Linked DNA regions of Homo sapiens: regions 1 and 2 are each linked to region 3. The links are contacts of gene promoters, found by promoter capture Hi-C in human tissues and cell types (Jung and others, 2019). All regions are on one chromosome and are shown on one strand. Each heading gives the region's core, a stretch centred on a gene start or on the middle of the fragment in contact. The rest is flanking DNA. Distances are from core to core; before and after follow the strand shown. Region 1 overlaps LOC101928080 (a long non-coding RNA gene). Region 2 has its middle 26 kb from the start of LINC02649. Region 3 holds the start of SFMBT2 (Scm like with four mbt domains 2).

The links. The method cuts DNA at HindIII sites, captures the fragments that hold promoters and counts their contacts. A contact is called where the count stands out against the background at its distance.
Region 1: a fragment that was not itself captured here is called in contact with the fragment with the promoter of SFMBT2 in region 3 in 1 of the 25 tissues and cell types used here (dorsolateral prefrontal cortex).
Region 2: a fragment that was not itself captured here is called in contact with the fragment with the promoter of SFMBT2 in region 3 in 1 of the 25 tissues and cell types used here (dorsolateral prefrontal cortex).

The regions. Positions count from the first base shown.
Region 1 is chr10:6,132,867-6,136,593 of GRCh38, reverse strand. All of the region lies in intron 1 of LOC101928080 (a long non-coding RNA gene), which reads left to right. Among named protein-coding and RNA genes, the nearest start is that of MIR3155A, 17 kb to the left of the region's middle. RefSeq lists enhancers at 1-21, 1,364-1,911, 1,912-2,460. The HindIII fragment of the contact is 7,054 bases long and covers 1-3,727 here.
Region 2 is chr10:6,299,064-6,302,823 of GRCh38, reverse strand. It overlaps a transcript of PFKFB3 not described here. Among named protein-coding and RNA genes, the nearest start is that of LINC02649, 26 kb to the left of the region's middle. RefSeq lists an enhancer at 2,738-3,760. The HindIII fragment of the contact is 4,169 bases long and covers 1-3,444 here.
Region 3 is chr10:7,409,608-7,413,175 of GRCh38, reverse strand. It overlaps SFMBT2 (Scm like with four mbt domains 2), which reads left to right and starts at 2,142. Exons shown (of 21, transcript NM_001387889.1): 1 at 2,142-2,315. RefSeq lists enhancers at 53-972, 973-1,893 and a silencer at 2,129-2,268. The HindIII fragment of the contact is 7,941 bases long and covers 1-3,304 here.

The DNA.
Region 1 (3,727 bases), core at 472-2,971, 1.3 Mb after region 3:
GCTATCGGATCTAAAGAGGCTACTGAAAAAGAGGAGGCGCAAAACAGAGGCATGAGTTGTTCAAAGTCAAAGAACACAATGAGGGAAGAATTAGTCATTTCAGAACTGGAATGAAACTTACAGCTCATCTAAACCAGATGCCCCATTTTACAGAGGAATGAGGCATTCGCAGGCTAAATGACTCGTGCGGGTCCCCCAATAGCTGATGGCGAAGCTGTGAATTCAGACCCCCACTTCGCTTGAGCAGTGACGGGAAGCTGGTGACTTCAGGCTCTGGCAGGTCAGCCCGGGGTGCAGGGGGCGGCTCCTGGGCTCCTGCTCAGCAGGAGGTGGAGGGGGTCTCTCCCTTCCTGAAGCTTTGAGAGCTGGGGTGCTGAGTACATTCTTGGGCTGTTGGGTGACACCATTCCCCTCTCTGAGTCCCCCAAAGGAATAGCTTTGGCTTCCTACAGTTACAGGGCTTCCTATATTAAATCTCAGCTCTTCGAAACACCCAGAGTAGTTTATCTTGTTCCGACTGGACCCCAATTGAAACGGACAGAACACAAGGAAAAGAGCCCAGGATTTCAAGGTGGAACCTGGTTTTGCCACTTACCATTTGTGTGGCTTTGGGTAAGGCATGTAACTTTTCCACCTTAGTTTGTCCGTCTGTAAAGTGGGCATATTCATACTTCACATTAGGTCTATAGAATAGACATTTCATCAGGGTTGAATTTTTTATGTGCTTATATAAATGAATTTCTTTCTTTGTAGGGGTAAATGGGCTCAGATGGCTCAGAAAAAAAATACGCACTCGCACATGATACACACACACAGAATGATTTAGCAAATACATAGACAACTGGTGAGGAACAATTGGTCAGTGTGGGAGAAGAGGATAGAGGTGTTTTTCAGTTTGAAATTGTTTCAAAATAAATGCTTTCAGGGCCGGCATGGTGGCTCATGTCTGTAATCCCAGCACTTTGGGAGGCCAAGGCAGGCAGATCACCAGAGGTCAGGAGATCGAGACCATCCTGGCTAACACGGTGGAACCCCATCTCTACTAAAAATACAAAAATTAGCCGGGCATGGTGGTACACGCCTGTAGTCCCAGCTACTCAGGAGGCTGAGGCAGGAGAATCATTTGAACCAGGGAGGTGGAGGTTGCCGTGAGCTGAGATCGCACCACTGCACTCCAGCCTGCGCAACAGAGTGAGACTGTGTTTCTAAAACAAAACAAAACAAAAAAAATGCTTTCAGGAAAGAAGAGACAGCTGTGCTAATTTACATCTACTGAACTTCAATACATGTGCAATTTAATGCAGGGGATGTTCGTTTACTTTCTATTGCTATGTAGTGTTCTTTTTTTAAAAAAACAAAAAAACACACACACACACACACAGAAATTTTGTGGTTTAAGCCCCACCCCTTCATTAGCTCCCGATTCTGAAGGTTAGAAGTCACACTGCCTGCCTGTGGCTCTGCACAGACCTCGCCCAGCGGAGATCAAGGTGCTGACTAGCTGAGTTCTCATCAGGAACCTCTGGAGAAAACTCCACTTCCCAGCTCCTCCTTGTGGGCACAATTCAGTTCCTGTGGAGTGGGAATAGGGTCCCCATTTCCTCGCTGGCTGTCAGCGGGGTCACTCCTAGAGGCCACCCTCGTTCCATGCCACGTGGCTCCTCCTTCCGCAGGGGCAAGGGCAGGTTGGATCTTTCTCGTGCTTTGAACACTGATGTCTTCTTCTGGGTCCTGCAGGAGAAAGCTCTCTGCCTTAAAGGACTCCGGCCCCCAGCAATCTCCCATCTTACAGTCAACTCATGGGGACCTTAATTCCATCTGCACAGCCCTTCCTGGCAGCTCCTAGGTCAGAGCCGAGCTGAACACCTGGGAGGAGGCGCACACACGGGCCCAGGAACCTGGCAGCAGGCTGCTGGTGGGGGGCATGGGCTCCCCAAGGGCCCACGGTTGGCCTGGCCCAGCCCTAGCACAGCTGGTGTGCTGTGTGCACTCTTTCTGTCATCCTCCCCTCAAAACGCAGCTCCTACGTGCTGCCCTGGCTCTGGGGAAAGGTGATGAATTATCCTTTCTCCTCCATTCAGCTGAAGTTTCAGACATCAGGATTTCTCTCTAGGGAGAGGCTCTTTTCTTCTCTGTGGTGATGTCCCCGACAGAAGAAGAAGAGCGTTGTGTTGATTGTCCCGCCGTCCTGGCAACTCCACAACCAGGGGAGCAGGACAGTGCCCAGGACCCACAGGTCGGGCAGCCATCCCTTCCTTCATAAGGAACGAGGGGCCACAGGGAGGCTGTAGAGTCCGGGAAAGGCTCTTGCCAGCTGTTCACAGCGTCACTTGGGGCCTCCACAGCCCGCTGAGCCCAGGACAGTGTCACAGGGGAGACGGAGGCCCTGAGGACCCCAGAGCCGTCAAGCACGCTCAGCTGTTCCCTGTCCACTCTCAGAAAGCCCAGCCCCTGGCAAATATGCAACAGGTTTATTTTATTTTATTATTTTTTTTAATGTTGCAAAGAACCTTCATATAATTTTTTCCATAGCATCCTGACAAACTCTGGATTCAAGCGGAGGCAGCATTCACCCATTTCTCTGCCGACAAAGCTGGCCTCGGCCAGGGTAGTGACTTGCCCGGATTGCTCAGCCAGACCAGGGGCAGAGCCCCAACACCAGGTCTCCTGGCCGGCGCTGTGTCTCCTCCCGCCTCCATCCTCATCCGAAGGTTGGGACGTCACAGTCCTTGGAGGCTCGCTTAGCTGGGAACTGAGGACCTTCAATTTCAATGTACTGAGTCTTCATGACCTGCATAAGGCCGAGGAGCCTGGCTGCCTCTTTCCCAGAAATTAGTCTCAGTCTCCTGGGCCAAGTGGTTGCTTTCTACTGCATTGCGCTCCTGGAATCCTGGAATACGCTGCTGAATTCTGCAGAGGAAATCAGAGTCATGGTGACTTCAAATTAATCACATAAGCACTCCCAGAGAGAAACGGGATTCTCTGTGGTGGGGCTGCACTTTGCTTGTAATGAGGACGCTTTAGAGGCCAAACTAAACCAGGCGGGAGAGCCAGGCCGTGGGGGCGGGGCGGGGCCTCTGCTCCGGGCACTCCCTTCCTCCACCTGTTTCCTCACCTGTAACATGCAGACAGTGTTCATCAGTGGCCAAATGTGAGGAGCAAATGCCCTTTTTTTTTTTTTTTTGAGACAGTCTCGCTCTGTCACCCAGGCTGGAGAGCAGTGGCACAATCTCAGCTCACTGCAACCTCCGCCTCCCAGGTTTAAGCGATTCTCCTGCTTAACAAAATAGGATTCTCCTGCTTAACAAAATAGATTTTTCTCCAGCTCAGGCTGGAGTGAATTGGCGCAATCTTGGCTCACTGCAACCTCCACCAGGTTCAAGCGATTCTCCTGCCTCTGCCTCCCGAGTAGCTGGGATTACAGGCATGTGCCACCACACCCGGCTAATGTTTGTATTTTTAGTAGAGACGGGGTTTCACCATGTTGGCTAGGCTGGTCTCAAACTCCTGACCTCAGGTGATCTGCCTGCCTCAGCCTCCCAAAGTGCTGGGATTATAGGCGTGAACCACCACGCCCGGCCTGCACCCAGCCTATTTATTTATTCTTAACTTTAACTTTTTTTGCAATAAGCCTTTTGCAGTCCTACATTTATTTATTTTTAACTTTTATTTTAGGTTCAGGGATACATGTACAGATCTGTTATATGGGTAAATTGTATGTCACAGG
Region 2 (3,760 bases), core at 111-2,610, 1.1 Mb after region 3:
ACACACACACACACAAATATATATATATATGTGTATGTGTATATGTGTGTGTGTGTGTGTGTGTGTGTGTGTGTATACACACACATATTTTTATTTTGGGCTCCCACCAGAAAGGAAGATAGGTATAGAAAAACCACAAGTATGGGCCGGGCACGGTGGCTCATGCCTGTATCCCAGCACTTTGGGAGGCCGAGGCAGGTGGATTGCCTGAGGTCAAGAGTTCGAGACCAGCCTGGCCAACATGGTGAAACCCCGTCTCTACTAAAATACAAAAATTAGCTGGGTGTGGTGGCAGGCACCTGTAATCCCAGCTACTTGGGAGGCTGAGGCAGGAGAATTGCTTGAACCCAGGAAGTGGAGGTTGCAGTGAGCCAAGGTTGCACCACTGCACTCCAGCCTGGGCAACAGAACAAGACTCCGTCTCAAAAAAAAAAAAAAAAAAAAAAAAAAAAAAAAAAAAACTGGCCAGGCACGGTGGCAGTGGCTTATATCTGTAATCCCAGCACTTTGGGAGGCCGAGGCAGGTGGATCGCCTGAGGTCAGGAGTTCGAGACCAGCCTGACCAACATGGTAAAACCCCACCTCAACTATAAATACAAAAATTAGCTGGATGTGGTGGCGCATACCTGTAATCCCAGCTATTCAAGAGGCTGAGGCAGGAGAATCGCTTGAACCTGGGAGACAGAAGTTGCAGTGAGCCAAAATCATGCCACTGCACTCCAGCCTGGGTGACAGAGCAAGACTCTGTTTCAAAAAAAAAAAAGAAAAAGAAAAGAAAAGAAAAATCGCAAGTATGTTACCTTCGTATAAATAACAAAGTTAGCTCACTTCTCTGTTTCCTCCTGTTAGGAAGTGGATAAAGCAAAATGATCATCCAGTCACTAACCTGTGTGGTGGGGAACTTACGAGGTTGGTTAGTCATTAATCAGAGCAGATAATAAAGCATGTGACTCTCAGCCCAGTTCTCTGCACTGGAATAATGTGATCCTCATTTCCTGAAATTTAGTCATAACGAAGGAAGTGATTTGAAATTAGCTTCTCTTATAAAGATAGAGGAATCCTGATGAATTAGAGCTCCCTTTCACCTGGGACTTGCCTCCATCACACTTGGCGATCCCCACACCGCCCTTTGAGCTGAGCTGCTCTTGAGGGCAGACGAACTGCCCTACTGGGTCAAGTTGTCATCAGTTACATCCATCAGTGCTTTCCAGAGAAAATAAAAGGGTACTTTCCTCAATCTATCTGTTATTGCAGTAAGTAAAAAACCTGAAAATCCAGATTAGCACAATTCATCTTCAATGAGGATTCTTCACTTTAGGAAACAATGTGCTTCTCTGGGGCACTAAAAACAAGTTTATTTCCAAAACAAATTTTGATCAATGCTCAACAGTTTTTAAGGATGTATCTCAAATGATCTAAGAATATGCATCGACCATTATTTATAAGTAAGGGTGAAGGAAATGCACCTTTATGAAGTCCCTGAAGCACCCAGGGACTGTACCAGATGCCTTACAGGTGTACATATGTACTAGGTATAAAGGTTAGTTTCCTAATCTAGGTATGTGTAAATCCTCATCTTACTTTATTTCCTTGAGTCAAAGTCAATTCCAAGTCACCATTCCATTGAGATAATGAAAAGCCCAATGGTGGATGCCTCCTCCTAGTCAACATCTCCCCCCAAATTATAGGAAGGCACACAGAGCAAGATATCATCTCATGTTCACATGGCCCACGAAGTCTGGCCATGCCAAGCTTGGGCAGAGGAATCTTCTGCAAGATGGCAGCTTCCACTGTTACGGACCAGCCTCCATGGTGCACCAGAAAGGCACTCCCCTCAGGTGTCCTCCCACCTTGCTGGATGTTGCCAAAAATAAAAGAACAAGATTCCTCTATTTCTGGCACCCACAGCTTCCTGTCTCCTTTCAAATCCTGCGTAATTACCCTTCTCTCAAAGGCAGTAGCTTCTCTCTAGTACCTACAGCATAATCGCCTCAAGAAACCAAGGCTTCCAGAACTCAAACCCAGGAAGGAATCTAGGAGGATTCCAGAAATCAAGCCCAGGAATGAATCAAACCCAGCTGCACTCAACTCTGGACTTCCACGGTGCCTCGCGAGACTGGCTTTGCTAAGGCAAGGGCTTCTGGGTGGAGTTAATAAGAAAGCAGCATGAAAAGGTGCTTTGAGACACGACACATCGTTTCCTGCTAACGATCAAAGAATATACACAGCTGTTCCCGTTTCGGAGCAGTTCTGGCCCCAGGAGAGAGTTGCTGAGTTGCTTTCTGGAAAAGCTGGCTTTGACTTTTCAAGGCAGCTCATGCTGCTAAAGGTTGCATAGGCACAGAGAGAGGGAGCTGCCGGGGGCATGGGGGAGCCTTCCCTGATGCAACTGAACTTGAGCTGAGCTCACTATGTCTCTAGAATCTACTACCTATTCCTATTCAATAAATACAAGTATTTATTAAACATCTGTTACGTGCCAGGTCCTGTGTCAAATGATGGAGGAAGTGAAAATGCGTAAGACACAGTCTCACTTTGAAGAGTTCTCAGCCTTGTGGGCAAAGGCAGGAAGGTTCATTGTGTGGCTTGAGTGCACACAGGGAGGCTTTAAAGAATGTGAGAGGAATATGAGGAACAGATGCTGCCCTGGAGTGACTCGCATCTCGCCCGAAGAGACAAACAAGGCACCCAACAACCACAGAACCAGTAAGTGCCAAACCATGGGTACTAACCCTAACTACAATGGGTATTCTGAAAAGGCAGAAAAAATTTAAGTGATCTTAGCATAATCAGACTTGGTGAGGCTTAACATTCCTCCCTCTTCACTAAAAAAAAAAAAAAAAAAAAAAAAAAAAGTCTTCTGAACAGGCACTGCACTAGGCTCTGGGAATGCAAGCCTAGGAAAGTCCAAATCGACGCCTTAAAATGTTCAGCAGACAGTGAAGGAAACATGGAGCTCCAAACCAGGGGCTAAGTGCCACCCTCAACACAGCTTCAGGCCTTCACTCTTCCCAGGAACTGGGGACTGTTTCAGAAAGGGGGTGCCATCTCTGCTGAGCTTTGAAGGAAGGGTAGAAGTTAGCCAGGGAGCAAGGTTGGAGGTAAGGGGTTCTAAGCCCAGGAGACGCCAAGAGTATAAAATTGGGTAAATTCCTGAAAAGTCAAGGTCAAGCAATTCCTGTATAAGGAGAAGATTTGGTGAAATCAAAGAGAAGACAAACTTGAGGCCAGTAAATTATTACCCTTTATCGGTCTTAACAGACGGGAACTAACAATATATCCCTGCGAAAGATCAATGCCGGAGTGAGGCTCAAGTTCACCTCCCGCAGCCTGTGACTCACGGCACACTGACTCAGCCATGCTACCTGCAAGGAGGCACGTTAGGACAACGCAGGGACCCAGCACGTGCCAGTGAGTCTCTCTCTGTCCTAACTATGGGATGCCACCCTCCTGGGTCAGCTGACTCACCCCTGCCTGTAAATCCTAGTCAGGTCTGTAGGTGCCTGGGGAAGAATCCTACCTACCTCTGAGTAAAGACAGGAATAGAAGCTGGTTCGTCTAGAGCAGCAACACAACCAACGTTGAAAAAAGCAAACACCATTTCTGAAAATTGCATGCAGAGTGCATGGTATCAACTGACGTGTCTCCCCTAGGAGAGTGAGCCATTAATGCTTTGCTAACCACAGCGCTATCAAGACCATCGTTTCCAATCCTACAAAGGAAACACCAGGAAAAACAGAATTTAAAGGTTTTATTTGTC
Region 3 (3,568 bases), core at 893-3,392:
CTGCGGGGCCAGGGCCACTGGGTAGGCGCAGCGCGGGCCAAGAGTGGGAGGCTCAGGGCAGGGGATCCGCACTCGGGGCCATTCCTGCCGCGGCGCGCCCTGCGCTTCAGCAGTGCACAGGGTGGGGACCCCTCGAGGACAGTGGTGCGCCGACGGGTCTCTCGGCCCCTCCCTTTCCACAGGCCCCGCTGTGTGGTGAAGGAGCCAGAAGAGGCGACTTGGGTGTTGAGACCCGGGGCCAAACCGTGGAGAGTGTCTGGAGCCCACACTCCAGATTTCTGGACGCCGCAGTCAGTCCAGCAGGTTCTACCTGGAGCCGCCTCGGGGCTCAACCGGGAGGCAGCGGGGTGCAGGCGAGAGGGTTAATGCGCCCGGTTCGGTTGGTTTGAGGAGTCTCTGCTTTCAGCGACCCACAGGGCAGAGAGCCCAGGGCTCCGGCTTGATGTCCCCAACAGCTGGGGACTGGAGAGCTGGAGGGGTCGCAGACTCAGGCTAGAGTTTAAAGTGCGCCGCGCGGCGAGTCGCTGGACTCTTCTGGGTCTCACGTGGCTCCTGTGTCACATGGAGTGACAGGCCGGCGGAAGGCGCTTTAGTCGTCGCCCAGCGTTCTCCAAGGTGTAAGGAGGCAGGATCTTCCCATACTGGCGGCGCAGGGGGCCTCACGGCTGCGGACGCCCGCCCTGGATCTCTCAGCTCGGCAGATCCTTTGGGTGGAGAGGCGCTCTCCAGGGTCGCGGCGAAGGAGAGCGGCTTCTCGGCACGTCCCTCCGTATTTCTTCTAGATCAGCTCCGGCCCCACCGTCCAGGAGAGGGCCCGCCTGAGGACCTCTGTCTGTGCCGCGCGTGGTCAGCCCCGGTCCCCTCACTCCATGGCTGGCCCCTAGCCCTTCAGAGCGGACACCTCTCCTTAGGGATGCAGGGCGAGGAAGGGCGGGTGGAGCTGCGAACCCACGGGGACCTGGAGGACCTCTTGGCCCCCTGGAGAGGGGTACTATGAGAGGGATTCATGGGACACAGATTTGGGGGACTGGGTAATTTTACCCCCTTTGGCAACCATAAAAACCCTGAGCAAACGTGTCCATTCGCTATTTCGCAGAAATATACAATGCAGGCCCACACAGGCATCTCTGCGAGGCCCCCTAGTTAAGGGCGCAGCGTTCTTCGGAAGCTCTTGGTCTTGCTACCAGGGCGTCACCGGCTTTTCCGCACTGGGGACATTTCGTTTGGGCTCTGCGCAGCCGTTGCACCTAAGGCCCTGGGAGCTCCGCGTTCCTCCCCAGGCGCCCGGGACAAAGTGCCCGAGGGCTCCGCAGACGTCCAGCCCTGCCCGGGGCTCACGGCCGCCGGGGCTCTCCAACGGACCGTCGAGGGCCACGTTTTGCTGGGGTGTGAGCGACGATTCTTTTCCCGCCCTATGAGGCCCGCCACTAGCTAGGTGCCCCATGAGACGCCGTGGCGAGCACGGCTACCTGGCAGCTCGCCCGGGCAGCCCCAACTTAATTTCCTGCCCCTCGGGGCACCTTTCCCTCGAATAGCTCTCCTCGGCCCCTCCAGCCCTGCCCAAGGGGCCTGGAAATGTTCGCAGCTTCAAGAAAGGCTCTATTTAAGCACAGGATGGGGTGGGGCGGGCGGGGCCAAGATTGCCCTGGGGATTGAATTTATCTCCGCTCCCAGCGATCCCCGGCGGATAAAGCGCAAGTTTGTGCACACGGTCGACTGAGCCATTGGAAACCCAGCTCACGAACCGCAGCCAGGGAAACGGGAGTTTGCCCAGTTGTCCTTGCGGAGGGGTGTGCGGAAACGCCCGCGATGGGAACTTTCTGCAGATCATGTATGGAGGGAGCTCACAAAAAGGAGGAAGGGGAGCGCGGTGGGGAGGAGGCCGCGTGGGCGTGGAAGGTCCCAGGGTCCTGGGGGTGCCCGCCTGCTTAGGCGCAGGGAATGGCGCGGAGCTGGCTGGGGAAGGAGCCGATCACGTCCCGCAGGCTAATTGGCTTAAGAAATTTTGCAAGCGCTGGAAAAGGTCGTTGAAGGAGTTCGCTGCACGCGCACGCACACACATACACACACACACAAAATCTTAAAAAAAAAAAAAAAAAAAAAAAAAAAAGAGCGCCGAGCATGCGCACAGAGAGGATGCCATATTGGAATGAGCTGTAGTGGGAGCCGGAGGACCGGAGCGGGCGCGCGAGGGAGGCGGCGGGCGGGGAGCGAGCGGGCAAGGGCGGGCGAGCGAGCAAGCGAGCGAGGCCGGTGCCCTCCCGGGCGGCGACCGGGGCCTGGGTCCACGCCGAGGGCAGGACGAACTTCACCAGGTAGGACGCCGCGCCGGCTGCTGTCCCCGGCGCCCAGGCTGGCCGGAGAGCAGCCCTTCGGCCCGCAGGTTGAGTGCGCTGGTCAGGGGCTTTTTCCAGCCTAGGAAAAAAAAGGAAAAAAAAAAAAAGGAAGGAAGCCTGAGGGAGCTGGGGTTGGAGGTGGCGGGTGGGGGAAGGCTGGGGAGGGTGCAGGGGAGCGAAAGAGAAGGGCAGGAGAAGAAAGCGACTGCACTTGAGCGAAGCTTCAAACTCCTCTGTGCGCTCCAGGTTGTCATTTTTGCTTCCCGGGTCCCCTTCGCCTGCGTCTCCGGGCTCGGAAAAGCCGAGCCGTGCGGGAGTCCGTCCGGAGTTGCAAAGTGTCCTCCTTCCCCGGGCGCAGCCTGTCCCCTCCCGCCGCCCACCTTCCTCGTTTCTGCACTCATTTTAGCGACGCAGCCGCCGCTGCTACCTACCCCGCGCTCCCGCGTCTCCTCCGCGCTGGGGTCTCCCCTTTCTTTTGGTTTGGGTGGGAGAAAAAGATGGTGAGGACGGGGAATCGGAGACCGGCATGGGGGTAAAAATCGTGCAGACATTCGGAATCGCTCCCTTGGAAACATTTGCCTGAGCAACTGAAATAAAATTGGCAGTAGTAGTTTTGGAGCGTGCTCCAGCGAGGATGGTCTTTTTGTTCATTATTTTCTCTTTAAAGTAATATCCTGTCACTTAGGGGCTTTCCGGTTGTCTCCTCTTATTCGACCCCCTTTCAAAATTGCTGACTTGAGCTGGTTCTGGAGTTTATTTTTTAATATGCGTGCGTGGGTATGTGTATGTGTGTGTATGTTTTGCAGAAATCCGCCAAAATGCAACTGTAGGAACTGCGAGATGTATTTATTGATTTTGACCAGGGGCGGTGGGAAGGGGCTGGAGGGAGCTGGGGGATCCTGGAGGGTGGGAAGTGGCTGATTCTCGGTGGCCGGACACTCATCCAGAGCCTGATCCGTACTCGTGTTTTCTTGGAAGCGCCACAACTGCGGGGAAGGAGTCTTTAGAAACCGTGCCAGTTTCAATATGGCGGGCTAAGGTGGCTTTTAAAAACTGAAAATAAAGGTTTTGAGGTGGGAAAAAACCCAGCTGAAGTTTCCACCCCTTAGTTTCGACTCTCTTTGGCTACCCCAGGAAGCGCTTTAGCGAATTAAGTGGGGAAAAAAAGAAGGAATGGGCTGTCCGGTTTTTTTTTTCCGTGGTTAGAGTCTGTGTGTCAAGTCCATTGCTAG